Regions from separate parts of the Homo sapiens genome. Here region 1 is linked to region 2. Evidence: promoter capture Hi-C in human tissues and cell types (Jung and others, 2019). All regions are on one chromosome and are shown on one strand. Each heading gives the region's core, a stretch centred on a gene start or on the middle of the fragment in contact. The rest is flanking DNA. Distances are from core to core; before and after follow the strand shown.

Region 1 (7,665 bases), core at 2,751-5,250, 50 kb after region 2:
CTGGATCTTTCTGGCCAGGCTCCTTCCCTGGCATCTGGGCTCGGTGGGGGTGGTCTGCCCCCTCATTCCCGCAGACCCTGGCCCCTGGCAGGGCCCCCAGTCTCCACCTGCCCTGTCTGTTTCCTCCCCAGTGTAACTATGCTGTAGAAATATATTTTGGCCACACCCTGCATGAAGGTTCCAGTCTCTGTGTCTGTGGGAAGGGCTAATCTGCGGCAAGAAGTGGTCCCTGGGATGGAAAGATCCTGACACAACGGAGGTTTGTGTCCTGCTCATGCAACGGCTCTGCCTGGTGAGCCTGGCTTCCTGGCACTCACGCCCTTGCGGTTTCTTCCACGTAGTCCCAGGTGAGTCTGTGCGGCCGACAGCATGCGGCAGAGTGCAGATGGGTCACTTCCGAAACTGGGCTGGACATGCCAGGTCTCCCTCCTGGTTGCTCTGTCTCCTGGGTCACGGGCTTGGGTGAAGCCAGCAGCCATGCCGTGGGAACTCAGGCGACGCGAGAACAGAGCGATCTCCCGAGGTGCACGGGACTCCAGACAACAGCCCGCAAGGACCAAAGCCTGCCAGCAGCTGTGCAGGACCCTCGAAAAGTCTCCTGGGGCCAATAGAGCCCTCACACGGCAGCAGACTCTGGGGGCCTTGGGAGGAGTGGCTGCATTTTGCTGGGAGAATCACAGAATCTCTGGGGCCTGAGGGCCCGGGACGGCCCAGAGACAAGGAGGTACTCAAAGCTGTGTGTCGTCCTCCCATGCCGGGCCAGGTGTGTCCATGTGACCAGAGCACAAGTGGATGCCACTCCTGAGTCCAGGGCCTGAAGGACCCTGTGGCTTCCCTCTGGGTCACTCTGTCTGCCTTGGGTCACTCGTCCTGAAGGAAGCCAGCCACTGCGTGCGGGGCCCTGCGTGGAGAGGCCCTCATGGTGAGGAGACGTCCGGCCCACAGCCACGAGGAGCCGCGACCTGCCAGCACTGGGGGTGAGCTTGGACCTGCCCCTCCAGCCCTGTGGAGGCTTCAGAGCCATGGCCTGGGACAGCTGCTCAGCTGAGCCAGACCCACCCAGCCAAGCCCTTCAGAACCCCGTTGAGTTTGGGGGTCATTTTTCTGCGGCAGTGTGGACCACCAGGAAGGACATCCTTCACGCAGACCCGCCGTGGCAGAGGCTTCACGGTCTCTGGGGCTGTTGTCTCCCCACCAGCTGGCCCACAGGTCCCAGAGGGACACGCAGGAAGACTCTTTCGCCCGTCGGGAGTGGCTCACCTCCCGTCCCCTGGATTCTCTGGAAGGACAGTGGCCTCATGGCCACGCCCGTGTGTGAAGGCTGCTGAGGAGAGCAGCCTGGCTGGGTTCCAGAGGACGAAGCAGGTCAGGAAAGAGACGGAGAAGGGGGAGCAGCTTGGCAAGTGGTCCCACGGTGGGCCCCCAGGGATCTCCCTGGAAGCTGTGGCAGCTGTGCTGCCGTGGAGGGCGCCTTGTCCTCACCAGATCCTGTGGCCTCCCTGGAGGGTGGAGTGTGTGCTGGCACCAAGGTGACGGAAAGGCCCCCCTCCATTACAGCATTGCACACATTTTTAATAGGAAGATACAAAGTGGTGTCAAAGGCCCACTGAGAAGACAGCTGAAGCTTGGCCACCCCACCTCCCACGCAGAGCCAGGCACTAGGGCAGAGGCTCCGGCTCTGAGTCCTGGCACCCCTGGGCCCTCCGTCATCATCACATGGGTGACATGGGAGGAGGTGGCCGAGGTGAGAAGCCCAGCCCATGTGGCCACTGTGAGTTGTGGGTGGGGAGGAGGCCTCTGCAGGAGTGGCAGGGCAAGGGCAGGCAGCAGCAGAGTCGCAGCCCAGGGCTGGCGTGAAGCAAAGCAGGAAAATCACATTATTCAGTTGCTTTAAAAATAACAGCATTTACAGGGCAAAACGGGGTGGCCCAGGTTTAAAAGAAACCACCTGTCTGTTCTGACGGTCAAAGCGTGAGGGAAGCCAGTGGTCCAAGCAGATGGAGGCGTCCGGGTCTGGGCAGGAACGTGTCTGCCACGTGCGGTCTGGGTTCAGGTGAATCAGGGAAGAGGAACCCCAGGGGCAGGAAGTGCTGGGGACGCCCCTGTGAGGCTCTGGGTCCAGCCTGCTGAGAAGGGGTTGCCAGGGGCTGGGGCGGCTGCCTGGACTCCCTGAGAATCCTGCAGCCCGGCTGACCTGGGCGCTCATACCAGGTGGGGTGGGGTGGGGAGGGCACACCAGGCGGGCACACACCCAGTGGGAGGGCACACCGGGAGGGCAGGCACACCGGGCAGGGCAGGCACACCGGGCGGGGGACACTCACTGGGAGGGGGGCCCTCACCACGCAGGGCAGGCACACGGGGGGGACACTCACTGGGCAGGATGGGCACACTGGGTGGGGCGGGCACACCAGGCCGGGTGTGCATGAGACAGCAGCCGCTCTGGAGAAGCGCAAAGCCTTTAGGATCTTAGTGTGATCTCACGTGTGGGTTCACGAGTCCTGTCCCATCCTGGTCATGGTGTCCAGAAAAACAGGACGGCGCATAAGTGGCCCTGCTGCTTTTGTGAGGACGAGGGAGCTTCAGGGGGTGAGAAGGGAATGGTGGGTGTGGCGCAGGAGATGGGCCAGCAGAGGGACGTCCGACCTGGGCAGCAAGCAGGAGAGCCCCAGAGGTCACCTCCATCGGAGACGCAGGCACGCCCTTCCCCACCTGCAGCCCTGGGCTCTCTCCGCGGCATCGGAGTGTGAGGGGAAGAGCTGCCTCTGAAACCCCCCACCGGCCCCACCATCTTATGGCGGCCCCGCTGACTGCCCCGCTGACCCCCCGCTGACCCCCCGCTGACCACTGGGGCCGTGGTGCCTCAAGCCTCGGCCGTCGCCTTGAATTTGGGCCCGGCTGGCAGTGCCCTGACTTGGCAACGAGACGCTGCCCAAGTCTCAGATATTCGATGCCTCACATTGCCAATATGGAGTCATTTCCCACATGGGGAAACTGAGGCACAGGGGGCACCCGGGCATTGCGGCACCTTGTGACCCAAGTCCCCATAGCGGCTTGAGGTCTACGGTCATCTCTGTCCCAGCCCCATGGTGGGGGAGTGGCCACTTGGGCTTTGGAAAGGGTACTCGTTTGGAAGGAGGCTTGCCTGTTGCGTGAGTGTGAGCTCAGATGGACTTGGGGGCCGATGGGGCCTTGTCACGTGGGGGGCAGGGCTGGGGGTGGGGAGCCGAGCTCGGCCCTTGGCAAAATGCCCAGAGATTTGTCAAGCGCAAGCACTGGCGTTCTCTGTCCCTTATGCTTACATTATTTGAATAGAAGAAGGCCAATCACATCGCTTCCCCAGGTGTGAATCACTGCCTACTTGGCAGGGACCGCAACCTTGGTTTGGCCTTTGGACACCGCACGCACATGTCATGACCCTCCTGGCTTTGGGAACGTGGTGTCCGGCTTACGGCTTGGGGTCCCCGTGCCAGGGAGCACTGAACGCAGCCGCCCACGTGTGGACTCATCGGACAGAGTGCGGCTGCTCCGTTTCCCATCCGCGCTGTTTTTTGTGCCCCTGGCCAGCAACGCCTTGGCGGGAACACCCAGTCCCTCCAGAACCGCCGAAGCTCCCCCGGCGCCTGCTCCCGGCCTGCGGGCTCCCAGCGCCACATCCTCCCCCAGGCACGGCTGTTGCCAGGCATCTGCACGGCCCTAGTCCTGAACCAAACCGCAACGGCAGAGCTGAGCACGTACCTGCGTCTGTTTGGTTTGTTTCCCAGGAGTCCGGCTCCAGATTAAAGAACCGTGTGAGGCCGCACTTTGCTTTTCGGGTACACGCCTCTGCACACTGTGTGTCTGGTGGAGGGCAGGGTCCTGTGGTTTCCAGCAAAGCCGACCTCCATGGAAACGCAAGTGGAAAATGCTTTCTTGAGAAAGTTCCAGTCAATGACAAAATGGCCCTTCCCCAAATGCCGTAGTCTCTCGCTGAGACCCTGTGCCAGCGTGGGGAGGTGCCCTTCCCTGAGTGCCGCAGTGTCCCCTGTGCTGAGACCCTGTGCCAGCGTGGGGAGGTGCCCTTCCCTGAGTGCCGCAGTGTCCCCTGTGCTGAGACCCTGTGCCAGCGTGGGGAGGTGCCCTTCCCTGACTGCCGCAGTGTCCCCTGTGCCAGTGTGGGTGTCCTCAGGGCTGAGCAGGGGCCCCGTGGCTGGAACTTTGTCACCTTTTGAGCCAGACAGCCTGCGAGGGAGACTCCCGGTGGTCACCACCACAGCAGGTGGCAGCCATGCGCCAGTTCTCAGCCCCGTCCACGCCTCATAGTGTTACGCACGAACCCTTCATCCTGCTCCAAACAGAATGAGAATGTCATGTCGCAGCCTTGTCTAGAAAGCTCACCAGAGAAGGGGGGTAAAAGCAAGTCCCTGAAAAGTCACAAGAAGACGACCCTGTGTGAGCAGTCCCTGACCCACTGATTTGACGTCCAAAATGGCTTCCACACTGGATTTCCTGCTTCCCCACACCCTCAGCTTTGGCTTAGGGCCAAAGCCATTCTAGCCAGAGCCGTGGGTCCTTCCCATCAGCAGGCCTTGCTTCCTGCTTCCCGCACTTCAGAGATGGGCGCCGACCACACAGGGCAAGGGACACGCTGGGTGCCCTCAAGAGGAGTGGGTGGAATGGCCCAGAAATACCCCAAATAAATAAGGCTGGGCATCGGTGGCAAGGATGGCAGAGGGGCCAGTGAGCCACTGCTGAGCGCAACCTGGGCTGGGCTGGACAGACGCTTGAGGAGGCCAGGTGGGCAGGGACAGGGGACACAGAGAAGGCTGCGGTGCTCAGGGAATGAAGCCAGCATGACCGGACGTCACCCCTTGGCCAGGCTGCACCAGGCCCTGAGCCACATCCCCTGCGAGGTCAGACCACAACCCAAACAGTTGTTTGATCTTAAAACTAAGCCTGTGTTTGTAACAGGAAACCAGCCCCAGCATGGCTGGGGTGAGTCGCATTAAACTGTGGTGCGTGCCACAGAAAACCTCAAAGGAACGAGGGCACGGTCCAGGGATGCTCCCTGCTTGGAACAGGAGCTCCGGGCCGGGCGCGCAGGCAATCCCAGGGGCGTCCAGAGGAGGCGCCACACCTAAACCGACCCTGGCGGGGTGACCTCAGCCTTTGAGGGTTCTCTTGGCCCCGAGGTCAGTCCCAGGGCACAGATCCATGGGGCTGCCCCGAGCCAGCTCTGAGGATTGGATGGGCTTCCCCCATTGTCTGGGGACCCTGACGAACACCACAGTCATAAAGCGCCTTTCATTTTCCTTTCAGGTCTTTTAGCTAAAATGCCACAAGAAAGGGGACTACGGCCCAGTCCCAGGCTAAGCGCGCTGCACAGCCCCCACTGGGCCTCTGCTTGGCCCAGATAACTGGAAAACATTCCAGGAATCTCAGCATTGCGGTTTTGTTTCCTCTTGGCTTTGTGAGAGTTTAAGGAATGTGTAATTATTTATGAAATGCCAGTGTCCTGGCCACAGAAGCCCCGATTGAAGAGAGAACCAGGCAGATGCAGAGCCATTCTTGGCTGGAGCTTTGAGCCCCACCGACTTTCCCTGCCATGATGCTGGGAATTTCTGCCCCACTCATGGGCATCAGAACTCCAAGGTGGAGCAGGACCTAAATAGACTGTAAAGGGAGGTGGAACCGAGATCCATGTGCGTGTTCAGAATTCAAGTAGGGTGAGTGGGTTTCCTCCCTTCACGTCCGCCCCCAACCCTGAAGAGTCCTTTGGGGAGTGCCGGCATCTCCTGCAGGAAGCCCGCCTCCCCTGGCCCTTCCGAGGTCCTGAGCCATGCTGGAGGGTCTTCAGCCCCCAGCCCTGCTGGGCTTCAGCTGCTGTGGGACTGCAAGGTGGGGTGGAGTTGCCCTCAGAGGGTGCCGGGTCTTCACGGGTGAGTTGAAGACCCCGTGGACGCCGCGTGTCAGAGCCCTGGGAGGGGGTCTCTGAGGTTCAAGATCTCAGTGGAGCTGCCGTTCTTTCTGGGACATCTCCTGGGTACTTGGCGAGAGAGCAGAGGTCAGTCAGAGGCGCCTTGGCCAGCACCAGCCCCTCACTCCCCGGCTATGCGGTAGCCCCTTCTGGTCCCCAGCTGTCACCTCCACTTGGGGCCCAGCTGGCACTGCCCTGAGTCCGAGGTCTCCAGCCCAGATCACCGAGATGGACCCATTTTCCAGATGAGGAAGCCAGGGTGCAGAATGGAGCCGGATGTGCAAGGTGCTTCGTAAACGGTGCCTTCCGGGCGGGCTCAGCGGTGAACACGGACAGGCCCGCCTTCCTGGAGCTCACGCTAGCAAAGTCAGGAAGAAAACCGCGTGGCCACCTTAGCAAATGCAGAACAGCATCTGGGAACATTCAACAGCCAGTCATGAAAAGGTTCTCAGCAGGCTAAGCATAGAAAGGCATTTCCTTAACTGGACAAAGGGTCTTCAAAAAACCTTCAGCAAATACAGTACGGCACTAAATGGCGAGACAGAGAAACTGTCCCCGTCAGACCAGAACACAGTAGACAGGCCTTCTAACAACGCTTCCATTTAGCATTCTAAGAGAGGCTATGGCTGTCACTCATAGGAGGGAGAGACTGAGAGACAGAGACAGGGTCAGAGAGACAGACAAAGACAGAGAGAAGCAAAGTCAGAGACGTAGGGAAACAGACAGAGAAATACAGAGAGAGACATAGAGAAACAGAGAAAGAGAGAAACAGAGACAGAGACATAGGGAAACAGACAGAGAAATACAGAGAGAAACAGAGACATAGAGAAACAGAGAGAGAAAGACAGAGAGAAACAGAGACAGAGACATAGGGAAACAGACAGAGACAGAGAAATACAGAGAGAAACAGAGAGAAAGACATAGAGAAACAGAGAGACAGAAAGAGAGAAACAGACAGAGACATAGGGAAACAGACAGAGACAGAGAAATACAGAGAAACAGAGAGAGAGACATAGAGAAACAGAGAGACAGAGAAAGACAGACAGAAGCAGAGACAGAGACATAGGAAAACAGAGAGACAGAGACAGAGAGAGACAAAGACAGAGAGAGAGACACTCACAGAGGATAATGAAACAATATCTGGAATAAAAGAGAAACGTTCTTCACAAATGGTATTTGCTGTGGTTAGAATGTCTCTCCCAAAACTCATGTTGAAACTTAATTGCCATTTTCCAGATGAGGTGCAGAGTGGAGGCAGACATGTTAAGAGGTGAGGCCCTCCTGAGGAATTAACGTGGTTGTCGAGGGAGCTCGATAACGACTACAGCAGTATAGTTATAAGAGTTAGGGAGAAAATGAACAAAATGAAAAGAAAATAACACAGATAAGAAACAAGAGATAAACATAGAAATTTAAAAGGATTTACATGTATATTATTAGATATAATAAAAAGTAGCAGCCAGGCACGGTGGCTCACGCCTGTAATCTCAGCACTTTGGGAAGCCGAGGCGGGCAGATCATGAGGTCAGGAGATCAAGACCATCCTGGCTAACACAGTGAAACCCTGTCTCTACTAAAAATCCAAAAAATTAGTCGGGCGTGGTGGCAGGCACCTGTAGTCCCAGCTACACAGGGGGCTGAGGCAGGAGAATGGCGTGAACCCGGGAGGCAGAGCTTGCAGTGAGCCGAGATTGCGCCACTGCACTCTAGCC
Region 2 (7,786 bases), core at 3,879-6,378:
CTCCATCCAGACACCTGCCTGGTCCATGTGCAGGGCTTCTCAGGATGCACTTCACAGACACAGGGGCCGACACTGAGAATGCACATCTGCACTGTCCAGGTACAGTGACCCGAGCGGGCAGGACCACGCCACTGGCCAGCCTCCGGCCTCCACCATGGGCAACACAGATCCACTGGCCCAACCTCATGGCCAGGCACCGGCAGCAGCCTCTCCCAGTCAGCACGCTCTCCCAGTCAGCACCCCAGAGCCCCTGCTGCAGGACAGGGGATGCCTGCGGCTTGGTGGAGAGCTTGGGCGCACACACAGCCCTCAGTGGGCCCAAGGCCCAGGCTGGCACAGAAACTACATACATGGTATCCAACCCGTCCTATGGCTCTCAGGTGCTGGGCATCAGGTGTCATGCCCAGAGGTGACCTCGACGCCTCCCACAAGGGGGGATGACCAGGTGGCCTGGCAACTCCCTTCGGTTCCCTCTGTGCCTGAGCCTCTGTGCATGTCTGTGCTGGCCTCGCCACATGGCTGGGCCACATCCCAGGGTAGGAACACGGCTGCCTGTATCCAAGGGCCAGGCACACAGAGGGCACCAAAAAGAAAGCAAAGGGCAGCCATGACACACTGCAGCTGCCGCCGGCTCTGACACAAAGCCCCACATGGGCCTCAGCTCCATGAGGACACAGGGTCCCGGAACATGAGTCACAGAAGACAGAAGGTTGGCCCTCAGAGTCTGTGCTGGAGGCATCCCCAGGCACCCCTGCTCCCTTTGGAAGCTGCCATTCTCCTGGACATCTTGGAGTGGCTTGCACCCCCAAATGCAGAGCTGGGTGGACTGGGCACCCACAACCTCTCCTTCTGTGTGGCACGTGGCCGAGCACCAAGCAGAGTATGGTCCACACTGCCTTGTCTCTGGGCGCACGTGCACTGGCCCGAGTCTCTCCTGCAAATGTGTATCTTGCCCCCACCCTGCATCTCTGTGTTGATGCGGTAGCGTCCAGACTGTGCTTGAAGCCATGAAGAATTTTCCAGGATCTTCTACAAGAAACTGCTCCCACTGACCAAGAACTGGGCATCCCACTGCCACATCCAGCTCTCTGGACCCACAGAGGACAGGTGAGCGCTGGCTCCTGGGTGGCCAGGAGGGGCAGGGAAGGGGCAGGGAAGGGGCAGCCCCACCCCTGCCTCTGGGGGAAGGCCAGCTGCAGGCATATGAGCCTCTGGGGCACTGTGGCTGGTTCCAGTCGGAAGGCGTCAAGCCATGTAGTGGGGCTGAGCCCAGTTCCCGTGAGCAAGGCCATGCTGAGGGCAGATGGAGTTTGCTGCTGGAAGCCAGAGGCCAGTGCAGGTGAAGGCCTGGGCCCTGGCCTGGAGCTCAGCCCTGGACAGAGCCAGCAGGTCTTACGACTGTGGTCCTCCTGGCTCCCTTCCAGGAAACATGTACCATGTTGGCACACTCAGAAGGGCCGTGGCATGGGGATGGGACTGGCGAGTGCCTCCTGTAAGCTGGGACCTGCCCTAGACGGGCCACTCAGAGCCGTGCCTGCTGCCTCCTGCAGATGTGGGCAAGAGCCCCCCGTGCAGGCCAGGGCCACGGCCTCCTCCACGCACTGGCTGGTCTGTCACGAGTGTTCGCTACAATGCTGCCTCTGGAGTTAGCCCCAGCGCACCCTTCCTCAGCACTACTTCATGGAAGCCTGTGCTCCATTCACAACAACATTCCAGTTAACAGTGACTCTTGTCTTCAGAACCATTTTCCGCCAGCCTCAGGGAGCGCTGTAGAAATTAAAGCTAGTCTCGCAGACCAGATGGTGAGGGTGAGTGTGCAGGGGCAGCCTGTTCCCAGGCCTGAAGCCATCCTCCCTGCAGTCACTACCACTTGGAAAAACAGCCACACAAGTGCACTGCCACCATGGCACCACTCCTCACCCACGCACATCCCCAGGGACTCCGGATCCCTCACAATCCACTCTCCAGACCTTCACGGCACCGTCACCAGTGATCCCATGGCCCTAGCCCTTCAGGGACACTCGGTGATGAAGCCGTGCGGGTCCCGCCAAAAGCAAAGTGTGGCGCTCCGCAGAGTCGCCAGGGAGAGCCACGTCGGGGGTGCAGAGACACACCTGTCTGGGAAAGTGCTGCTGTTGGTGTTTTCAGACACGTACAGAGGCAGGAGCCAGCATTGCTCACAGGGAATTAATAATAGCCAATCTCATTTGTGTTATTTTGGGGGCTGGGGAGAGAGGGTAGGTCGGAGGTCTTGGCTCTTAGTGCGCCCAATCTCCACAGGGTTCTCTGCCACCGTTCTGTGGCACCCAGGATGCCTCGCACGGAACCAGGAGGTGGACTTTGGAGAAGGGAAGGAGTGAGTCCCCTCGCTGGCCCCAGCCAGGCATCACAAGGGGTGCCCTGGGTGACCCAGGACTGGCCCTCCTCAGTGGATACCACCTGGGAGGACAAGGACGATGGGCGAGGCTCTGGACAACACAAAAGAAGAAGGTGAGAGCCAGAGGGACACTTCGCTGTGGTGGCCTGCGACTCTCCTGGACGTCAGTAGGATCTGTCGCAGGGGGAACAGCTGCCAGGTGAGAGGAACAGCAATGTGGCAGGGAGGGCACTTGGCCAGGTGAGGGCGCACCTGGGCCCTGGGGTCTCCATGCCAGGTGGGAGGAGTCATGGCCAGAGGCGGAAAATACAGAAAGGCAGCACTTTTGTCTGAAAGCTGAAATGTATTTAATTCACAGGACAGCCTTTGATTCTGAGTTTGTTCATTTTAACTTAGAAAGGAGTTTTCTTTCATGAAATGATGGCAAAATTAGAAGGTAACAATCCAAGCAAGCCCCAATTCCCAAGCTATTCTCTAAAGAAAATGTCCCAGTGTAGAGTGGCAGGTCTAAACGCCCACGAGCAGCCCTCACGCTGACATCGTAGTCACATGAGGAGCACCTGCATTTTCCAGAGCGCACTGGCCTTGCCCCATGGCCCTGGGAGCTGCACTTCATGGTGAGGGCGCTGGCTCAGGGATTTTAAGGTTCATGGTGCAGCGCCTCCCAGGGAGAAGGCTCCAGGCCAGTGGGCCAATGGACAGGGGCCGGCCAAAGCCCTGACCACGAGAGAGGTGAACGCCCGCCCACCCCAGGTGCTCACATCACTGACTAATCATACCAGGAGCACCTGGCTGCTAAGTGGCACCATCCACTCACCAGCAAGCCCCTGTGCAAATGTAACTGGCAGAGAGAGCCAGATTGGGGCGGGGACAGCTCCCTGGATGACCTCACCCTGGTCTCCCTGTCCCGGATAGAGGCTCACAGGACCACCCAACTTACTGTACCTTACAGCGTGCTTCCCACCATCACAGGCGTTAGATGGTCACTCTCAGGAAGCACCAATCCTAACTCTATTGCATGTTAATTTCCAAGCAGACCTAAGCCCCTTCTCAAGACAGAGCTGCAGAAAATGTCTCCAAACACACCCAGAACTTTTTTTAATCAACTGCCAGAACAATGTCTTTCCAAAAAGGAAACTGATTGCGTGACCCGGCATGTTCTGTGTCTGGGGACCTCTGGGGACAGTGGGGGAGGAAGCAAGGGGCAAGTGTGGGCCTGGCCACCTGGTGGGGCTGTCTGCACCGATACAGTTCACACTGACACTGATGACCATCAAATGTTAGCTTTCTCACGCTCAGCAAACATGCAGGTCTAATTTACCCCAGGCCCTTCCAGGGCCCCAGACCTGGACAGTTCTCTGCTCCTGGACATAGCACCTTCCTCACCCACCCTCAGGGCCGCCTGGCTCTTGAGCCAGCCTTGCAGTCTCTGCAGCCTTGCCACAGCTGTGCAGATGTCCCTCTGTCTCCTGAGCCTCTAGCAGGCCTGTGGTCACCCCTCCCAGAGATGGGAGGCACCGAGGCCTCTGACTCTGGCCATGTTTGCTGATTGAGCACTGAGGCTATGACCAGTGATGCCCCAGGTCTGTAGCTCCCACCCCTCCTCCAACTCCTCCAGCTCATCCAGCCGGGGTACTGCATTCCCGCTCCCCGGGACCCCCAGCCCGGGACGTCTAGGTCCAGCCCCTCCCACTCGCCCAGCTCCTCCAGCCCGAAACATGGAGCCCCCACACGGCTCCCAGCCTAGGACAAGGAATTCCGATTCCCCTACCCGCCACTCAGCATGGGACACTAGCAAGGGCTCGCCCCACGGGAGCCCCAGACGTCGTGGAGGCTGGGGAGAGACTGGCTCTCCTGGCCCCCGGTCACTCGTGCGGCCATGGCGGCCCACGTCTCGCCTGTCCGCGGGCGGGCACCAGGAACAGCTCTGACACCGCTCCCCGCCCCCGGGCGGGTGCGCAGCGCGACCCCAGCCTCCGCCCCGCCGCCTACCTGCTTGTCCCGCGCGCGCCGCTCCGCTTCCTCCGCGCCTTTGCGGCCGCTCGCGTACGCGGACGCCACGAAGCTGTCCCCTGCGGTCCGGGGGCGGACGCGCGGGAAACCCGCACCGAGGAGGGAAAGAGACGCGCCGTGAGCCCCGCGGGCGCTGCGCCTTCGCTGTGTCCCCATCGCCTGGAGACCGCGCAGGGGCAGGCGTGGGGGTCCCGCGCGCTCCTGGAGACCCGCGGCCCCGTCCCCCCACTGCTGGCTCCAGGGCAGGACGCGCGCGGGCTCCTAGCTCTGAGGGTCCCGGGCCGGGTCGCCGCCCCCCGCCCCGCCCGTCGGCTCGCCCGCTCACCTTCCGGGCTCTCTCTCCGCTTGCGGGCGGCGGCGGCTGCGGCACGGCGGGACGCGGGGAGAGGAAAACGACAGTGAGAGGCGGCCCCACGCCCGCCCGCCCGCCCTCCCGCCCTACCGGCCCGCGGCTCACCGTGCTTCGACTGCAGTTTCCCCATCGCCGCCGCCACGCCCCGCCGGGCCCCGCGCTCAGGTGCAGGGCTGAGTTCTGAAGCCGGGGCCGGGAGCCCGCGGGGGCCGCATGGGCCGGGAGCAAGCTAGGGTGCCGGTAGGAGGTGAGGGAAGATGGCTCCACGCCGCGCGGGGGCCGGGGGAGCCAGGGGGCGCCAGGTACGGCCGCGGGGCGGAGGTGGGGGGCCACCGGGCGCAGGGCGCGGGGACAGCGGCGGCAGCGACGGCGGCCCGGCTCCCTCTGAGCGCGTGCGCCCGCGCCGGGGCTTTAACCGCGGCCCCCGCAGCGCCCCCGGCGGCCGCTGCCCGCAGCGCATCGGCCTCGACCCCCGTTCCCAGCCTGGAGCCCCACCAGCGATGAGGACCCGGCCCGGCCACCTGTGGGGGCGGTCAGGTGCTGCAGCGGAGCCTGGCGGGAGTCAGCTCCGACCCCTCACCAGGCCGTCCTGGGTCAAGGGATCCCCAATTCCAGAGGAGCCTGAGGGCACCTCCCTTTGAAAGGGAGGACCCGCCTCCCTTGGCTGCTGGAGAGGGGGTGGGGGTGTGGGCAGCCCAAAGGGGGGTGGTATCCGGCAGGACTAGATCCCCGCCCTCTCCTGGCGCTCCAAATTGATGAAGAACCAGCGTTGGCCCCCCCCGGCCCCGGCTGGAAGGGCCCTGCACCCCCTCACTTTGTCCTTGGTTTGAGCAGGGTCTCCTCCGACCTGTGCCTTGAGGGTGTTGGAGCCTCCCAGGAGCCCCAAGCCTGGCCACCTGCGCTGCCTCCTCCACGTGTCCAACTCAGTGGCTTCAGCTGCTACCTCCCTGGCCTCATCTCAAGCTCCTCCAGCTGGCTCTGGAGACCCGTCCCTCAGTACCCTTCACTGGACCCCCTCTCTGCCTCCTACCCTGCTGGGTACCTCAGGGCTCTCTTCCTTATTTACCTTCAGAGGAACCTTCTTCCCTCACTTCCTCCTGGAACCCTAACTTGCTCCTGTTTCTGGGACATTTCTCCCTTCCCTACCCATGACTCTCCTCCCTGCCACGCCCTGTTGCATTGATACATTGTATCTCCCCAGCCTTTCAAGAGCTAGCTCAGCATTTTCCCCACGGGCTGTTGCCACGCCCACGTCTCCAACCTCAGTGGGTGACCCCACCTTCTGCCAGGGCAGCTCCCGTCCCTGGAGTTGGAGCTCCGAGGCTGGCGGTGCGGGACCCCTCACCTGCCCAGCTCCGGCCCTGCCAGGCCTCCGCTAAGCTGGCCCAGGTCCCACCCGGTCTCTCTGTTCCCACTCCCCTGGCTGGAGCCCTGTCTCACAGCTGAGCAGCGCAGCTCCGCGGCTGCCCAGTGCTGACTTGCACCTCTGGAGCTGACGTCCAGCCAAGCCCTTTCACTCCAATTACTGCCTCCCATTCTCAGACCATCCTCGGGGCAGATGCCGCCATCACACGATTTTACAGAGGCCTAGGCTGCTCAGTGGCAAAACGGAAAGTTAAACCAGAGGCCCGCCCCCCACCCCAGCAGCCTCCCCTGCTGGCTGTCCGCAGATACATGAGCTGTGGGCGAGCACATGAACAAGGGCACACGGACCCTCCTGGGAGTAGTCTTGCCTGCGAGCCATTCCCACCATCCTCTGAAGAACCCTAGTGGAGGGGCCACTTCCTGCAGGCAGACAGCTCTGGCACCTGGTAGCAGGGTTGCACCCGGCCAGGCCGTGCCTGCGATGGGCTCAGAGCGCCCTTGTGTATAGCGTCCAGGCGTCCAGATTCAGGGCCAGGGCCACCCTCCCAGGCTCTTTCGGCCCCTCCTCTCTCCCTTGCGCTACCCCAAGTGGACTTTAACTCCCAATTTGGAAGGTAACAATGCCATCTTCTGTGGTCTCAGGGTCCTAGTGAGTGTGTGAGGATGATAGTGTTACATGTTATGCAAAGTAGCACAGCCTGAGGATTGCAGCCCTTCCCGTGCCTCTAAATCCTGCCCTTACATGAGGACCGATGAGCCACCCTGGGTGAAGATCTGCTGGTGGGCTCGTGTCCCCTGTGTGGCTGGGAGCCTTGCCTCACACATGCATGGGCCCTCCTCCCAAGACCCCGAGAAGGTCCCACTGGGGGAGGTTGGCTGAGGTGCCCCAGCCAGGTGGGGAAGGGCCATTGTGTTTCACTCCTCTGCTGACTGAGCTCTGGTCCTTGCTAAATGCAGATGTCAGGAGGTCTGGGGGAGGAAGTGTCCTGGGAGGACAGGTGGAGGTGGGGGGTGGGGGCGGGCCATGGCACCAACCCCACACCCTACAGGGTGCCCAAGCTGGAGGAGCCCATGAGGCTGGGCCTGCACTGGCTGCCGTGCCCTCGCACCCACCTTGTCACTTGGAACTAGGCACATGCAGAGTCCAAACAGCAGAAACTCCCCATGCACTCCAGTGAACCTGAGTTACTAGGCAAAGGTTTTACATTTATTCTTTAGCAGCTTTATTGAGATACATACAATTCAGGGGCCCTACAATTCACCCATGAAAGTACAGACCATCTCCATCCATCCCAGGCGGGACGCCGCCAGCACACAAGGCGCACAGCTTGACCCTCAGCCCCACTGACTGGCAGATCAGGGCTGTGTGTCCTCCTCCCACTGGGCTCAGACAGTGTCCTGGGAGTCCTCTGAGGTAGAGGAATGGGATCCCCCAGGGCTCCTCTGAGTGGGAGCTGGAGAGTGAGAGCAGCCGATTCACCCATTCCTTCCCAGAGGGTCCGGAGTTCCCACCCAGCAGGACACGCCTGACCCTCACCTCGCGTGTCCTCAGGGCATTCCCCCGGGTGGATCCGCAGTGGGGGTTAGGGGCACTGCAGAGCTGAATCTGTACCCCACTGTCAGCTCAAAGGGCAACCCTAAGTGGCCCCTACGCCTCCAATGCCCACTGGACTCTTTCC

The links. The method cuts DNA at HindIII sites, captures the fragments that hold promoters and counts their contacts. A contact is called where the count stands out against the background at its distance.
Region 1: a fragment that was not itself captured here is called in contact with the fragment with the promoter of NKD2 in region 2 in 1 of the 25 tissues and cell types used here (lymphoblastoid cells).

What each region holds. Positions count from the first base shown.
Region 1 is chr5:954,825-962,489 of GRCh38, reverse strand. LOC124900931 (a long non-coding RNA gene) reads left to right here. Exons shown (of 2, transcript XR_007058676.1): 2 at 1-172. Among named protein-coding and RNA genes, the nearest start is that of LINC02982, 39 kb to the left of the region's middle. RefSeq lists an enhancer at 1,575-1,814. The HindIII fragment of the contact is 8,141 bases long and covers 1-7,665 here.
Region 2 is chr5:1,006,144-1,013,929 of GRCh38, reverse strand. NKD2 (NKD inhibitor of Wnt signaling pathway 2) reads right to left here and starts at 5,128. Exons shown (of 10, transcript NM_033120.4): 1 at 4,848-5,128; 2 at 4,716-4,751; 3 at 4,370-4,449. The coding sequence starts at 4,872. RefSeq lists enhancers at 5,101-5,866, 5,867-6,632, 7,786. The HindIII fragment of the contact is 40,301 bases long and covers 1-7,786 here.